Linked DNA regions of Homo sapiens: region 2 is linked to region 1. Evidence: promoter capture Hi-C in human tissues and cell types (Jung and others, 2019). All regions are on one chromosome and are shown on one strand. Each heading gives the region's core, a stretch centred on a gene start or on the middle of the fragment in contact. The rest is flanking DNA. Distances are from core to core; before and after follow the strand shown. Region 1 holds the start of CISH (cytokine inducible SH2 containing protein). Region 2 overlaps CACNA2D2 (calcium voltage-gated channel auxiliary subunit alpha2delta 2).

Evidence for each region. The method cuts DNA at HindIII sites, captures the fragments that hold promoters and counts their contacts. A contact is called where the count stands out against the background at its distance.
Region 2: a contact is called between a fragment that was not itself captured here and the fragment with the promoter of CISH in region 1, in 1 of the 25 tissues and cell types used here (H1 embryonic stem cells).

Annotation. Positions count from the first base shown.
Region 1 is chr3:50,608,485-50,614,252 of GRCh38, reverse strand. CISH (cytokine inducible SH2 containing protein) reads left to right here and starts at 2,479. Exons shown (of 3, transcript NM_145071.4): 1 at 2,479-2,622; 2 at 5,660-5,768. The coding sequence starts at 2,603. It also overlaps a transcript of MAPKAPK3 not described here. RefSeq lists enhancers at 1,961-2,050, 2,960-3,520 and a silencer at 2,131-2,610. The HindIII fragment of the contact is 7,054 bases long and covers 1-5,394 here.
Region 2 is chr3:50,435,719-50,441,486 of GRCh38, reverse strand. All of the region lies in intron 2 of CACNA2D2 (calcium voltage-gated channel auxiliary subunit alpha2delta 2), which reads left to right. Among named protein-coding and RNA genes, the nearest start is that of CACNA2D2, 65 kb to the left of the region's middle. The HindIII fragment of the contact is 9,524 bases long and covers 1-5,768 here.

The DNA of each region.
Region 1 (5,768 bases), core at 1,230-3,729:
TGGGCCCAGCAATCAGAGCCAGGGTTTCTAGGGAGCAGCCAGGGCAGGAGAATTAAGTACTAAGTTGGCCAGAGGGACCCAACTTAGTACTTGGGGCAGAACAGGGGCACATCACTGTTCCCAGCATGCAGGTGAGGTGCACAGTGCTGTCATATTCACACACACACAAAAATAGTTGGAAGGCCAAAACCCTTGGAACCCTTTGGTTTACACATAGACTGCATAATCACTGACCTGTAGGAGATACTTTCAAAGGGACACCCATGGTGCTCTGACATGGACAGGCCTGGGGGCAGAGAAGCTTCACTGAGGACCTTAAAGCTGGATGTCTAGGAGTCGGCAGATCACCAGCACCCATAGAGGAAGTAGGAGGAAGTGTGTAGGCTCCTGGCTTAAACCATTACTTGCCAGCTGGGAGATCTAAGTTATATTGTAACCTCTCCATGCCTCAGTTTTCTCACCTGTAAAGAGGAGATAATATGTGGTAGTTGTGACAATGACATGAGGCTGCAAATTGCTGAGAGTGCTTGACACATAGTAAGTGTTCAGTTGAATAGTCATGGTGAGGGGGAAGAAGTATAGTTTTGGTAGAGAGCTTGGGATTTGGCCCCATAAGAGACCCAAGTTCAAAATTGTAACTCTGTTGCCTGGCAGCGGCAAAGTCCTTTTGTCTTCATAGTAATGAGACAGTGGACAGTTCCTACTGGCAAGTCAGTGGTCCACACAGGGGCCGCATATCAGGCTATCCAGGTATCCCAGCCCTCAAAGTGGGTTATAAGGTATCCATCCCCCCTACCCCCATTCCAAGAAAGTGGCTTCTGGCCAACTCAGGAGGGGGCTGGCAGAGTTGCACTCATGAAGCCCGGCTTCCCTTCAGGAAAGCTACAGAGAAGTGACTGCCCTGAAATCTGAAACTTAACGTTTTTTCCCCAGTTTCACAGGGTTTTGCTTTCAGGTTTCTTTTGCCCTCTGCCATTCTGGGCAGAGCAAACTGAGCCCTGTCTTCCCTGGATGCTATCGTTCAGGCCCTTCAACAAGGCCAGGGGTCTGTCATCCCTGCCCAGGATCTCAGAGCTAGACTCCTTTCTGGGGACCCTGGGGGCACACACTGGGAGGGGGATGGGGGTGGGGAGTGGACCCTGCAACCTCTCCAAATCCCACAGTTCTTCTGGCCCAAGGGTTTGGAGGAGATTCACAGACCCTACAGTCCTTCAAGATGCTCCATAGTGAATCCAGTGAACTGAAAAAAGGTGGAGAGGGTCCTGGTAGGAGCGTGGGCTTCTGATTCAGAGCTGGGACCAAGCTCTTACCCTGCCATTTCCTAGCATTTGTTCCCTGGGGCTGTCTTCTGTCCGCATAACGGGAGCAACACCAGTTGTAGAGGATCAAATGCAGCAAGTACTCCCTGTAGATAAGAGCGAGTGTTACTACTCTGCCCCCGCCATCCCGCCCCAACCTCTATCACCCTACTCCCAGATTATCTCCCTATGTTTTGAGTTGCAGGACTCTCTCTCAGCATTTTTTTTCTGGCGGGGGGTGGGGGTGGTACCAACCCAGAGTCCGGGCCATCTGGGGCTGTCTCTGCTTGCTTTCTCAAATCTGTAGTCTCTTCTCCCCTGACTGGCAGGGCCGGCCAGAAACCAGTGCCAGCCAAGACTGGATGGTCTGCCTGATTCGAAAAGTTGGGGCGTGCTTTCTCCTTCAACTCTTTCAAAGAAAACGTTCTTGTCTGGATCTTTCTGGCTGTGGTGACCGCCGGCTTGACCTCAGTGGACCCACTCATTTCTGGAACTGTCCTCTGCACCCCGCCCTGCCCTAAGTCCCGCTCCAGATCTCACCCCATGCCACCCAATCCGACACCCGACACACAGAGTCCTAGGGTCCAGGAGCGGCCGTCCCAACACGGGGCGCTTGCACACGCCGACAGACCTCCTTGGAGGAGCCGCTCGCAGGGAGGACAAGCCCGGGACTCCGCCCCCCGCCCTGCCACGAGTTCCACCGCGAGATAAGAGGGCCCTTCCCCAACGACGCAGAATGCCAGAAGGCAATCTGGGCGCGGGTTGCTGAGCCCGGGCCCCTCCTTAACTTCCCCGACCCGGTCTTTCCCCACTGATCTCTCCGACCTGCCCCTCTGGGTAGCTTCAGCCCCGGGTCCACGCGCTGCTATTGGCCCTCCCCGACCGCTCGGCTCCACCTTCAGCGTCGCGATTGGTCAGCTCGCGGGGCCCCGCCCCGTTTTCCTGGAAAGTTCTTGGAAATCTGTCAAAGTATTTCCTTTCACTGCTCAGGGCCCCAGACCCGGCGACGGGGCCCGCGCACCCCGCCCGGGCCCCACCGCTCAGCCCGCGGTTCTAGGAAGACGCTGCTTCCGGGAAGGGCTGGAACGCGGCAGACAAAGGATTAGGCAGCAGCTCGCCCCGCCCCGCTCGTCTGGCCCGCCCCCCTCGCCCTCGCAGGCGGTCCGCGCCACTGCCTCTCAGTCCCTGTCCTGCGCCCGCGCGCCCCGGGAGCCTACCCAGCACGCGCTCCGCGCCCACTGGTTCCCTCCAGCCGCCGCCGTCCAGCCGAGTCCCCACTCCGGAGTCGCCGCTGCCGCGGGGACATGGTCCTCTGCGTTCAGGGGTAAGCGCGGCTCTCTGCCCCCTTCCCGGCCACCACGAGGGGCGCACGGGAGAACAGGGGCTTCGTGCTAGCTGCCGGGCATTGGGAGGGCTTGACGGGCCAGAGGTGACTGAGCGCAGACGGACCTCAGGAGCAAGGCTCTGTGTGGGGCTGTGACACTCCCACTCCCCGCCCCCACACACTTACCTCAATTCCCACTGTGGATTGGGAAACCGGGGGCTGGCCGGCTAAAGGAGGAACTCACAGGGTGGGCTCAGCCTGGGTTCTCATTGGAGCAGATGGATGCTAACGGCACGGCGTCCCCCAAGATGTGGCCAACAATCCCAGATATTCTTCTGGGCCCAGAGCACTCTACGCTAGCCTGCCTGCTGCCCTGCCTGCTAGTAACCTTGGACCAGCCCCTGGCCCCCTCTGTCCTGGTGTCCCCTCTCCTGCCCCAGGCTAGCAAGTAGGCTCTTCTTGGGAAGCCAGCCGCAGATCCTTGCCTTTCCTCAGGCTGGCACCTGATGGTCTGCAACTCTCGGGAGGCCCTGGGTTTGGCCTGGTCCTGCTTGGGGTACCCCCACAATCGTCTCACAACCCTGTCTCAGCCCAGTCTGGGATCCCAATGTGAGAAGGACCTTGGCTCCTGCCTCTCATCTTCAAATTTCCCAGACTTGAGGTAAGGGACAGTGGAGAGGGGATGCTGATAAGACAGAGTCTTGACCTGAGCTGAGCATTCCTGGCCATCCACTCTGTCCTGAACCTCAGCAACCCCTTCAACCAAAGGGTCTGATGCTGGCCATGGTGATGTGACAGGAGCTCAGGAAGCTCCAAGGAGAGAGGAAGAAGGTATAAATGGGTGTTCTGCACTCAGGGAGGACTGGGTGGCTGTGCTTATCGCAACTGGCCTGGTGCCAAGTGAGGGAGGGTGGAAGGTGAGGCCAAGGAAGAGGACATGGAGGTGCTGGGAAGACTACTTCTCCCTTGCTGTCTCCAGCAAGTTCCTTCCTCCTGTCTGCATTCTGGGACTCCTGAATACCTGCCCCACCACTGCCTTCCACCCCAGGAGCCTCCCCCTGCATTCCGGGGTCCCATAGCCTCTTTCACTTTTTACCCTAGGTGAGCACCCCCTTGTAAGCTCAGGGCTACTGTTGGGTGTCAGGGAACAAAGTTTTAGACTGCTGCGCTCCAAAGCGGGCACACACATGTACCTAGAACACACCAGCCACTGTCCCCACCATGATGATGACACAGCCATGGACACACCCCTGCCCAGGTACACACTCACCAGGAGCTTGTGGTGATCAACACAGCTATTCATACACCCAGCTACCACATCAGCCCCAAAGGTGCCCACACCTACATGTGGGATCTGAGGACCGGCTAAGCTATCTGGACGTGGCCACCCACAGAGGTTCCAGCCTGACTGGCTAGCCACCAACCATGCTCCTGGGAAGGTAGCTCTGGGCCCCAGCAAGCAGGTCATCTCAAAATTTGGCCTCCAGCTCTCCAAGAGGGATTTCCAAGATCCCACAGTACAGCCAGGGTAGGTGTGGAAAAGTTTTTGTCAGGCTGTGGTGTGCCAGAGTTGTGTGGCCCTTTCTCACTGTGAGTGGTCATAGGGCCATGATTTGTTAGAACCTAGAGGGTCACCTATAACCTACACAGGAGTCAGGTCTGGCTCCTGCCACCAGCTCCTGCCTGCGCCTTCCTGCCTCACAAGCAATACTGGCGCTGTTTGCCCATGCTGTCCTCTCTACCTGGGGTCCCTTCCCCCAGCTCCTTCCTTTGGCCTGGAAGACACAGCTCAGGAGCAAGCAGACCCTGACTCCCCCGTGACACCTGCAGTTTTATGACTTTGCATTATAATTACTCTTAGTGTCATCTTCCCCAGCCAGTCTGGTTCTCCTTGAGGGCAAGGCCATGGTTTCATTATGGCGGTGTCCTGAGGCCCAGCCAGGGACTAGACCCAGAACTAAGGCTTGGAGATGTATTTTGCAAGGAGTGAGGGAGGAGCAGCTGTCTTCCTGGGGAAGTAGAGCCAGTCCCTGCTGCCCTCCCAAGGAGGAAGCCCTAGTATCACCCTGCTGGGTGGGCTTCCCCTAGGAGAAAGCTGCTACTCAGATTTTGGTCGGCTCAGTTCCCCCAACCCCAGCCATCCAAGAATATGGTGTTACTGAACCTCTCAGTGCATGGGTTGGTGGGACCCTTTATTGCGGAAAAGGGAAACTGAAGCCCAGTGAAGAGCAAGCTTTGTACAAGATCGTAGAGCCTGGTAGGGCTGGCTTGCCAGGGTGGGAACTGGAGTGTGGATTAGGTCCCTGCCCTTGGTGGGAGCTCATACTGACAGGAGGTGAGACTTGCCAGTGCCTTTAGAGGCCACTGTCCACCCCAGACCCTCCACTGGGAGAAGCAGAGGCCAGGATAGGCTGACTTGTATGGGTAGGGGATTATTTCAGTCTCTAAGTCCTGGCCAGTGTGGACCTAGGTCCCTCTGAGAGACACTCCTATCCATGGGGAGGTAGCGTGTGACCTCAGGCAGCCTACCATAATCCTGGGGCTTCTCTGGAGGACCCCACACAGATCTATCATAGGATAAATCTACTTGTCTGTCGTAGATCTATCTCAACTAGGACCATTCATCAGTGGGCCATTTAATCAGCCCACTTCAGCCAGGAGGGCACAAACATGAAGCTACTTTGCACTGAATCCTATCAGTGTGGTGAGAACATTAGACATGCCTATAGGGAATGATCTGTGTTTTTGGTTGATATAAAATAGAGAGCAATTAATTACTGTTTAGTAAATGCAGGGCAGTGGAAAAGAATCTTTCAAAAGAGGATCCCCACATGGAAACAATCAAGGTGGCTTTTGTGATGACAAGTGGGGAACGAGATACTGGACTAACTGAGCCCATGGCTGGGTAGAGGGGAAGCTGAGGCTCATAGTGAGATGGGCCAGCCAGAGGTCATGAAACTAGTCTGGGGCATAGGGGGGTCTCTGGAGATGGGGGAAGCATGGGTCCTCCACTCACTGCTCATCCACTGCCTTCTAGACCTCGTCCTTTGCTGGCTGTGGAGCGGACTGGGCAGCGGCCCCTGTGGGCCCCGTCCCTGGAACTGCCCAAGCCAGTCATGCAGCCCTTGCCTGCTGGGGCCTTCCTC
Region 2 (5,768 bases), core at 1,047-3,546, 170 kb after region 1:
GTTGGGTTTTGTGTCTTTTGAAAAACAAGAGATTGAGCCTTTTTATGACATGGATTTTACAGCGTAACGAGGCAGCGTAATTTCCCATTCTCAGCAGCAAGTGCACTTTTTACACTAATTGCATAATTAGACATAATGTACTAATTGCGGTAATGGATGACAGTCAACTAAACTTTAACTTTAAAAACAGGGAGGCGTTGCTGGGGGTGGTGGTGGGGGCTTCAGGCCCCTGTGAGTTTTGTGAAGGTAATCTTGCTGGTGAAAGCTCCTAGAAGTTGCCTCTTGAGGACGAGGGACCACAGAGCCGCCAGGCCTTTCTCACCTTGTGGTCAGTCACATGTCCCTCCTTCCTGGAGGATCCCCCTGTCCCCACCACCTGGGTATCTGCTCCCCTTGCCCTCACACCCTGTCTCCCCAGCTTCTGTCCCCCAACAAGCCCCTCTGCAGCCACTGAGCAGTCCCTTATCCCCGCTTCTCCCAGCCTTTGCACCTGGCGCTACTGCTGCCAAGCGTCCCTCGTCCCTGTCCACCCACAAAAACCCCTGCCCAGCCTTTCAGACTGCTCAGATGTCCTCTCCCCTGGAAAGCCCTCCCCAGGCTTTTTCTTGCCCCCTACCACCCTGGAGCAGGCCAGCCCCACTCCCAAGTGTCTCCTGCACAGCTCTGTCTACTGCCACCTGTCTGGGCATCTGTCCCCTCTGGATAGAGAGTCCCAGGAGGGCAGGGACGAGGTCTGTTCCATCTCTGCTGTTCCAGGGGGATGTAAGGAGGTGGGGGTGGGGGAGGATAGTGCTATTAATGGGCCGCCCACCCAGGAGACCAGGCCAGGCACCCTCCTCTCTGCTCCCACACTGCTGTGTGACCTCCACTGTAGCCCGTGCAGGCTGATTGTAATGGCCTGGTTCTGTGTCTGTGATGCCCTCTAAAGAGAGCGTTCATCCCAGGCATTCTGTACTGGATATGAAGGGGAATTATTAATGGGACAACTAACATCACAGTGTACAAAACCTGTGTGTGACAGGACACCATATACAGCTGAGTGACCATGGGGCCACCCCGCCTGGGATGGTGGCAGTGTGGCATGGCCACTTAGGAACCTAACATGGCAGTTGGCAAAAATGTCAGCAGCTGATGAAGCATGTAACTGAGTGGCACGCAGCCCCCCTGCCTGGGCACCGATAGTGTGCCCTGAGGGCTCCAGGGGCCCCTTGCCCTACTGTAAGCCCTGTGCCAGGCTGGTGAGGGACAGGCCTTAGCCCCCTCCTGGGGAGCTGCCAGTCACACACCCAGTCTCGTGGCTGGTGTGTCCCCAGAGCAGCCAGATTAGGGTTTTTGTGCACCCATCATGGGGCAGCCCCTCAGTCCCATCAAGAACTAGGCTATAGGGAGAGCCCTGAGGGGTGCAGCCTGTCCTGGATCTGTCCCAAGTGCTGTCAGTGGTAGAGGGTCCCCAGGTGCCTGGTTACCCCATCAACTCTCCAGTCTTCAAGGTGGATTTGCAGTTATGTCAATACCCTCTATTTTCTCACTGAGGCAGAAGGCCAGGTTAGCAGCCTAGAAGGGGTGGGTGAGGCAGGGGGCCCGGACCTGGCTCTACCCTGACTGGCTAGGGTCCTTGAACTGGTCACTACCTGTCGCCAATCGCCCTACCTCATTGGCCCAGCTCAGGCTTCCTGAGCCACCACAAGCCCCCTAGCCACCCACCCAACATCCCTGACATGAGTGTAGCCCAGTCTGGCAGCTGACCCCGGCCTCCAACTGCAGACCCTGTGGCCTCTTGAGGTGGTTCCCTCCCCAGGGCTTGTTTATTTGGGTTGGGCCTCAGGAGGCCTCGCCCACAGTCTCTCATCCACTGGCTGCCCTCCCTGCAGGGGCCTAATGGACAGTTAAGACTTTCACCTGGCTGCTCCCTGTGGTGAAATGTGGTGAGGGGATTGGAGCGCCAGTCTCCCCGGAGTCATGCCTCGGGGCTCAGGCCAGGGGTGCTGGAGCACCTGGCAAAACCCCAAGGTGAGCTGGGTCTTTGAGGAGACAGCTGGCAGCAGGGCCAAGCCTGCGTCAAATCTTTCTTGTTCCATTTTCTTTCTGATTTAATTTTCCAGAGATTAGGGCTGTTCACCTTCGCTGCGGAGAGGAGCCTTGCGTGCGAGTGCCTGTTTTGACTCCCAGGGTTGGGTGGGTGCTTAGTCGATTGGGCTGGCCCTGCCAGTCTTCCCCTCATTCCCCTCCAGCATGGCCCTCCCACCTTCCAGGGGCCTCAGTCTTTCAGCCTCTGCCTGCATCCGCCCCAAGCCCTTCAGGCCTGCCCAGTTCATCCCTATGCCTCTTTTCCCATGGCTTTGCCTTCAAGTTTAGGGATAAAGGTGGGGTACAGAACTGTACAAAGAGTATGACCTAAAGCAAGGGCTTTGGATTCGACCCAGTTCAAACCGCAGTTTTGCATGCGCCTTAACCTCTCTGGCCTTCAGTGTCCTCTCTGCCACATGGAGATGATCAGAATGGACCCTCCTCAGGGGTTGTAGGAGATCAGTGATGTCATCTATGTAAACCACCTGCCCCAGAGCAGCCAGAGCTAACACTCGGGGCAAACAGGGCTGTTCCTGCAGCTTCCTTGGCCCTTCCTCCTTGCTTTTCCCCACTCTCCTTTCCCCTCTCCTCTCTCCTTTTCCTCTCCCCTTCCATCTTCCCCCTTGCCCTAGGCAGGTTTGCTGGTAGCTCAGGTCTGGGCTCCCTTGCTGCTGACTTTCTAAAATGCCTTCTGATTGGGGCCTGCCCAGGTCACTTGTCCTGAGGCCTTTAGTTTCCTGTGGTGGCTGTCTCTATGTTCCAGGCACGTTGGGGCTGGTAGTTGGACTCCTCTCTCCCAGGCAGCTCTGTTAGGAGCTGTGGGAACGAGGCTGGCTCCCTTTGCTCCTGCCAGCATGCAGGCTTCCTGTCCAAGGTCACCATTCCTGCAAGGGTCCTCCAGGCTCGCCTCCCACTTACACGGAGCCATGGGGGAAGCAGGAGGCTGGGCAGAGGGTTCGGGGCTTCTAAGGAGGCATCAGCCCCCACGGCCCTGTGAAGCCCTAGGATGGAGGGCTGGCCGGACTTGCCCTGATGCCTAACTGAAGAACTGCTAGAGCTGAGAGAGGGTTGAAGCTAGAGCCAGCCCTGGGGGAGGGGAGAGGTGGAGGGGCAGGTCTCCATCACTGGTGGGATAGGAGTGCCCTCAAGGGAGGAGGGCACCAGCTGAGCCATGGTCACCAGTACATGAAACAAGGGGGGGAACCAGGAATTCCTGGGAACAAGGGGCTCCAAACAGACTCCTGAATTGTCCCTTGGGACCTCAGCCACCCCTGTTCTCCCTGTTCCTCAGTCCTCCCCCACATCCCCACCTGGCTCCAGTCTGCTACCCTGTCCCACCAGCATCCTGGCACTCTCTGTGGGTTAAAGCTGCTGCCTCTCCCTCCCTATCACTGCTGGCACAGAGCTGGGGCACCCTGGGATCAGCTGGGCCCCGTCGTGCTCCTTAGTCCAGCAGAGGTGGGGCTGTGCCGGCTGTGCTGCTGTGGGAGCAGTTGGCTTTTTCTAATTAACTCTCTGGGCCAAGGACATCAGTGGGCATTGCCATCCTGCTGTGGTGGTTGAGGCTCTGCATCCGGTGCACCCTGGCCTTTCTGCACTTCCCAGCTGGCCCTAGGAGCCAGGGCTAGAGGCTGGGGCTGGAGTGGGGCTAGTCTTGGGCAGAGTCTGTGCACTGGAGTTGCCCTGGGCTCTCCTGGGCTCCTGCTGGGCCTGCAGGTGGAAAGCACCTCCCTGGACCACATCAATGTAGAGATGACCTTTCTCCCAGGATGGGACCATCTGCTGGGCTGTGTCACTTAGATCTCCTGGGGATTTGGGGCTCAGCTCAGGGCCCACCCTAGAAGACAGGAACAATTGGAGCAAGTTCAGGGGAATGTTGAGGGGGAGGGCTGTGGCACTAGGGGCTATCATTCGAGGACTGTTGCACCTCAAGGGCTCATTTGGGATTGGGGAGCAGGCTTGGCTGGCAGCATGACCAGCCCCTGCACTTCTGGGATTCTGCTCTCCTCTCAGCAGAAACCCCTTCCAGCCCATTTCCCTGGCCTTGCCCTAGAGAGGATTTAGATAGCAGGGCAAGGTGGAGGGGATGCAGGGACAGCGTGAGTCAAAGTATAGCTGTGGGAACTGGCCTGGGCTGGAGACCCAGAGGCCTGCAGGCACATGACAGGTCAGTGGGCTTGATGGGACCCAGACCAGGGTCGGCAGAAAGATGCTGTGGTGGGTCCTCGAGTAGAAATAGAACAGGAAGAAAACACGGTGGATGCATCCCTGGGCCCCGAGGGCTCATGCAGCCGCAGGCAGAAGTTGAGGAATCAGACCTGGGCCCAGCTGGCCCCAGAGCTCTGCTTTTGGACATAGAATCCAGCATATGCATTTGCCAGGTGTCCACTGCACACAGACATGGTGCTTGGGAGAGAGAGAAGGAAGCTGGCCATGGCTGTGCCCTATCAGTGGCGTCCCAGTGTCTAGGCTCCACCATTATCACCTCTGGGGCTGAGGCTAAGGTGTCGGAGACAAGGACAGGGTGGCTCAGTGTGGGAGACTGCCCAGACCGATCTGGGAGAACAGGGTGGGGCTGGAGGTGGGCAGACCCCAGGAAACTGAGGCTACCAGCTCAGGAATGGAGCCGATGGCTTTGGACAGCCCCAAGTGTACAGATCTAGCAGGGAGAGAGTGGGGGCAGGGAGGGACTATGATTCCATCTGCAGAATTCTGGTGATCCCAAACTAATAGCCGTAACAACAGCACAGGCTGCTCAAGGCATGGGTTTGCTGTCCCCAGCCTGTGAGGTGGGTACTACTGTTCTCTCATTTAATAGATCAGTCACGGAGGTTCAGAGATGAGTGACTTTTGGCAGAGTCTCAGCTTCCAAGGCCTCATGTCACCTGTTGGTGCCCTGAGGTGTGGGCCTGCCACCTAGAGACCCACTCACTCTGCAGCCCCCTGATCCCCAGCACAGTTACCATGCCAGGCTGCAAGGGGCACCCTGGAGCCCAAGAGGAGGGACTCCTGGACTTTCCCAGGAGAACCACATGGTCCTGCCTCAGGTCCTGGGGCTGTACACAGCCATGGACAGCCCAGACTGTGGCTGCACCTGGTAATGACCTTGACAGAGTCTGAGGTATGAACTTCATCCCAGGCCAGGAGAAGCCGGGCAGCAGTGCCCCCTGCTGGTGCAAATGGGTCGGGGCACCACTCTCCAGAGGCATCGGTGGATGTGGCTGAGACCATGGCCACACACCCCAGAATGATCTGTCAAGGATGGGTGAAAGCTGATGGGGGATCTGGCTTTGCCACTCAATCGCCTGGCCTTGACCTTCCCTCTCCTGTTTCTGTGCCTCAGTTTCCCCAATAGTAAGGTGCTAGGCTCTAGGTTCCCTGCCTTTCCTCAGTGATCCTCAGGGTCTGACCCCTCCTCACCCTGTGTCTCTAACACTGTCTCCCTCTGTGAACGTCTGTCCTGAGGCAGGGCCCAGGGGCCCAGGGAACATCCTGGCCTGGCACTCACTCGGGGCCTCTCTTCTCCCTGGCCATGTGGCCAGGCCTCAAGTCTCGCCCCCTTATTGCCACTACTCTGCGGGAAGGAGCGACTTCACCACAAATTATTTTGTTCTAAAAGAAGGACAAAAAGAAAAGAGAAGCCGGGAGGGATGGGGGTGGCGGGAGGAGGAGAAGATTGCCTGAGCTGGCTTTGTGTGGTG